Linked DNA regions of Homo sapiens: region 2 is linked to region 1. The links are contacts of gene promoters, found by promoter capture Hi-C in blood cells and fetal thymus (Javierre and others, 2016). All regions are on one chromosome and are shown on one strand. Each heading gives the region's core, a stretch centred on a gene start or on the middle of the fragment in contact. The rest is flanking DNA. Distances are from core to core; before and after follow the strand shown.

Region 1 (2,599 bases), core at 42-2,541:
GGCAATTTGTAGTGAAGGACTGAGCCTTATCATACTTGTACATTAGTGCCTACCATATAGTGGGGCTTAATGAGTATCTGTTGAACGAATAATCTTTTCATATGTAGACGCTGGTTCTGGGAGGGCAAAATTAAGTCCCTATTCTTGAAGAGTTACCAGTCAATACATCTTCCAGAGAGAACCAACTTCCTGTTGTTAAACCCTTCAATGCCTAGTTCTAAGTCACTGACAATTACTCAGCTAGAGACCCACTCAACCTCTCCTCTCCTCTCAAATTCCATTTCTGGAAGCTGTTACATGGCCCTTCCCTCAGCATTCTCAATACACCTTCTATCTAGGGACACTTGATGTTTTCTTCTTTTGGAAATCATGCTACTGTATGCGTTTTTTACTTTTTGAACTGTCTTCCCATCTGCTATCCCAAGGCCTCCCTCACCCCAGATAAAAGATTCAAGGTTTCTAAGCAGGAAAAAAAGTTTGCGAAAATGCTGTGGTTTCTTAAGAGAGAACACTTAAAATTTGCAACAAAGGAAATGTGGAATCCTGTAAGATGTAAAACCCTCACCACCTGTCAAGGACTACTAATTTCCTCCTCCTGCTTCTGACTTGAAAAACACGAGCTAAATCTGTCTGCCTAACGCACAAAACCAGATGTCCACTCTTCATCTCACATAATTGACATCTGCGTCTTTTATCTACGTAAACAAACTTGTCATTGAAAAAGTCCTTGGCTTTGAAGTCGCCGGATGGCGTAAATAACACTGACACTCAAATCCCCCGTCTGATTTCAGATTGGGTCGATTTCACGCAGGTTCTATAGAATTTGCCAAGACTGCTGGCCTGTTTTCTACCCTGATTCCTTAGGTGGCTTCTGGGACAGAATTACGGTTCTCTAAGTATTTGCTTGCAGGTGGGTTTACTGAAACGGTCGCCACTATACGAAGTTCGTTCTTCCCGTGTAACTAACGAGAGCCCATACCAACGTGCAACGCAGCCGTGCACACTGCCGCAGCGGTCGCTGCGATCACGACCTTTCAAACCGCCCCGCAGCCCTCGCAAAGAGGCTCGTGGCGCCCGCCTTCCGGTGCCTCAGTCCCTGCCAGTAGCCACCCGACGCCGTCCGGCTGTTCCTCGTTCGCCCTCTCCCTCCGCCTAGCCCGCTTCTACCCGGACGGCTCCCGGCGCAGGCTGCAGCTGTTCCGTCAGCTGCCGCTCCTCCTCCCAGACGCAGAGCGCCGCTCTGCCCCGCCCCCCGCGCAGGCTGCCGTCCCTACATCCGGGTACCGACTCCAGCCGCCTAGACGCTGGCACTATGGTCATGGCGGAGGGGACGGCAGTGCTGAGGCGGAACAGGCCGGGCACCAAGGCGCAGGTACCATGTCTGCACTTTTCTTGTCGGGCAACTAGGTGCCGAGCAGTGCTGCGCCCGGAAGCTGGCCGCCACTGCGGGGAGGTTGGGCCGAGGCGGCAGGCGGGCGGGCTGGGGCACTGGTGCCCGGCCTGCTCTTCCGGAGCTGCAGCCCCTCAATTTGGCTGAGGCGGTGGCGGCCGCCGTGAGGCCTGCGGAGCTCCGACCCAGGGGTAGGCGTGAGGGGCGGGTGGGGTCTGCTGGTGGTACCTGCCTGCCGAAGCCCTGGGCTGCGAGCCTGTCAGCAGCAACGGCTTCTTCTCGCCTTGCCCCTGAGCCCCAGCTGACTAGCATTGGAGGGGCGCGACCAGCCTGGTGGAGACCCCCGGGGTTTCCTGAAGGTCGGGGCCGCTGAGGTGGGAGGGGGTGTAAACACAGCCTACCTCGACCCGGCGTCCAGTTCCTACCTGGCCTGGGAAGTACCTACCCGTTTCCTGCCATCCAGCTTGTCTAGCCGGATCCGGGTGCCGATATTCTCCTCCTTGTTTCCCTTTGACCACCTCTCCCTGCCGCTTTCCCTGGAGCTGTTCTCTGGTCCAGCAAGTTTTCATCACTAAGTTGTGACTTGTTAGATGTCATTCCTTGCTAATATGCGTGAAGCATAGTCAGAGAATGAACTGATTATAATTTTGTCAGCTTTTTTGTAGGGCATTATGTGTGGTAAATTGGTGCTTGATTAGGCATTGTTTCTTAGGGTTTGGAAAAGATGGGATGCCTCACATTAAAAATAAATAAATAAAATTGGCATCCAGACTTGAACTGATTAATTGCTAGCCGAAATGGCTTGCTATAGACTAGATGCTCTGAAATCGGAAGAGATGTGTTTATAAAATGTTAAAAAGTGATGCAAATGAAAATTGAAACAAAACAATCGTGGAGCTATGATTGTATGTCTGAGAATAGATTTTAATTTCTTATACAGAATTATGGAAAGAACACCTTTCGAAGGGGGCATACAGGTATTGATTACCTCCCCAGATTCATGTTACAGATAAGGAAACTGAAGCCCAAGAGAATTAAGTGGATTTGCCCAAGGATACATAGTCTCCTGATTCTTAATTCACTGGTGACCTGTTCTCTTTAACAAGCTGCTTCTAGTGCTGAATTTCAGAGAAAATTTTAAAGTCTTATTTTGGAGTCACATTAAGCTGTCAGTTATTCCTACTGACAGTTTTGTTTTCATACTACTGG
Region 2 (2,599 bases), core at 66-2,565, 530 kb before region 1:
TGTTTTGAAGTAGTTAAATGTTCTCATTTATTTTGCTTCAATTCTATGATAAATAGCTTTTCCTATTTGTCATGTTGGCCTCCTCAGATTTTTACTTCTTCACATCCAATGCTTTTTTTTCTTCAGTCATTCTCAACCACCCACTCCCATGGTTATATCCTTTGCTTTGTCATCCTCAAAACTATACCACCTGTGAAATCTTTACTTTGGGCACTCCACATCAAGATCACCAACTCTGGGGCTACAATTCAATAATTCTGTCTTATCCTGACCCCCATTGACTACCACTTTTTCAGTATCCATCACCTCCCTCATGTTTTCACTTTCTTCCTTACCCAGTTTAGAATCCATGATCTACATAATCACATCCATTAAAAGCACCACAGTTCCATAACCCTCTCTCCCTTTGGACTTACCTAGCAAAGCTCTATACCAGGTTAAATTCCACTGTCTTCTTACTCTATGCCTACACCCAAACATCTGATGAAAAAATCCACCAGGATGACTGGTATCATTTTAGATTTATGATTATAAATCTTGAGTGTACTAAATCCTACTCAGTAACCCTCCTCTGTTACTCTAAAATGTTCTCTCCAGGCTGGGCGTGGTGGCCCACACCTATAATCCCAGCAGTGTGGGAGGCTGAGGCAGGTGGATCACCTGAGGTTGGGAGTTCGAGACCAGCCTGGCTAACATGGCAAAACCCCATCTCTACTAAAAATTTTTTTAAAAATCCGCCAAGTGTGGTGGTGTGTGCCTGTAGTCCCAGCTACTTGAGAGGCTGAGGCAGGAGAATCGCTTGACCCTGGAGGTGGAGGTTGCAGTGAGCTGAGATCGCACCATTGTACTCCAGCCTGGGCAACAAGAGTGAAACTCCATCTCAAAATAATAATAATAATAAAATAAATACATAAATGAACTCTATCTTGCCAAATCCATTGGTCAACTTCTCTGCATTTGACTTCCCAGAAGCAATTGAGACAATAGAAATCACTGACACTCCTTCTTCTATGACCCTTTATTTCCCAGGTTTCAGGGACATCTTGGTCTCTTGGTTTTCCTCCTGCCTCTGACCATTATGTCTTGTCTTCGCTGCTAGATCCTCCTCCTCCCCTTCCTAACCTCTAAATGCTGGAGTGTGCACAGTTCAGGGCTCTTCTATCATTTATTCCTGAGGGAATCTCTTCTCATTTGTCAATACTAAAAAAAATTATATATATATATATATATATGCAGAGACAAATCTCTAAGCAAGAGGATTTTATTTGAGAGTAATATACAGAAAGTAGGCTTGCAATAAGGACATGCACACAGAGACCAGGGCAGTTTCCAGTGTGTCCAAAGAACAAAGGAAAGGGCTGGAGTTTTATTGGGAAAGGAGAAAGAAGATGTAAGTTGTTTTCAAAGAAAGTTAATTGGCGATAGCAGAGTGGGCGCTGGTGAGCTCTGATTGGCAGGTGGCAGCAACTGCTAGGTAAAGTTCGCCTTGAAGTCATAGCAGGCTGTTTCCTTGGAGTAAACTTGCGAGACAGTTTTTGGAAGACGTTTGTGACCAGAGTGCTCTTTCCCAACAAAGGCTCCTTGACTCCATTTTCATTGGGTAGGACAGGAATGACTCCAAATCAACTTTCACATGTCTACAATTTCATATGATCCCAGCCCTGGCTTCTTCCCCAAACTCTACTGTTTACTTGACTCAAGCCATCAGCAAATTCAGTCAACTCTACCTTCAAGACATATCCAAAATGTGTCACAGTCTCTTCATTTCCCTTGTTGCCAGACAATCCAAGCCACTATATTTACTTGTCTAGGCTATTGCAGTGGCTACCTAATTGGTCACTAGGGTTTCTCTCTCTTGTCTCTCAACAGCAGCCAGAGTGATCTTTTAAAAATGAAATCACTGGATAAAGAAAATGTGGCACATATACACCATAGAATACTATGCAGCCATAAAAAAGAATGAGTTCATGTCATTTACAGGGACATGGATGAAGCTAGAAGCCATCATTCTCAGCAAACTAACACAGGAACAGAAAATCAAACACCACATGTTCTCACTCATAAGTGGGAGTTGAACAATGGGAACACATGGACACAGGGAGGGGTATATCACACACCAGGGCCTGTTGGTGGGTTGGGGTAAGGGGAGGGAGAGCATTAGGACAAATACCTAATGCATGCGGGGCCTAAAACCTAGATGACGGGTTGATAGGTGCAGCATACCACCATGGCACATGTATACCTATGTAACAATTCTGTATGTTCTGCACATGTACCCCAGAACTTAAAATAAAAATAAAAAATAAAAAATAAAAATGACAGAAAAAAAAAATCAGACCACAGCCATTTTTCTGCTTACATTTCTCCAGTGGCTTTTGTCACATTCAGAAAAATATAGAAACTCCTCCCAGCTCACAAAATTTTATGTCTGGGCTGAGATCGCTGTTAATCTTCTGCCACCCTCCCTTTCCCTTGAGTCTCCAGCCACACTGGCCCCATTTCTGTTCCTAGAACATAACAAACTCATTCCTGCCTTTGGGTATTGGCACTAGCCTTTTCCTCTCCCTAGAATGTTCTCTCCTCTGATCTTTGCATAGCT

Evidence for each region. The method cuts DNA at HindIII sites, captures the fragments that hold promoters and counts their contacts. A CHiCAGO score of 5 or more calls a contact.
Region 2: a fragment that was not itself captured here is called in contact with the fragment with the promoter of MOB4 in region 1 in 1 of 17 cell types (monocytes); the score reaches 5.7 in monocytes.

What each region holds. Positions count from the first base shown.
Region 1 is chr2:197,514,775-197,517,373 of GRCh38, forward strand. It overlaps MOB4 (MOB family member 4, phocein), which reads left to right and starts at 1,292. Exons shown (of 8, transcript NM_015387.5): 1 at 1,292-1,372. The coding sequence starts at 1,313. All of the region lies in intron 2 of HSPE1-MOB4 (HSPE1-MOB4 readthrough), which reads left to right. RefSeq lists a silencer at 1,131-1,350. The HindIII fragment of the contact is 18,120 bases long and covers 1-2,599 here.
Region 2 is chr2:196,980,898-196,983,496 of GRCh38, forward strand. It overlaps a transcript of ANKRD44 not described here. Among named protein-coding and RNA genes, the nearest start is that of PGAP1, 55 kb to the left of the region's middle. The HindIII fragment of the contact is 2,815 bases long and covers 1-2,599 here.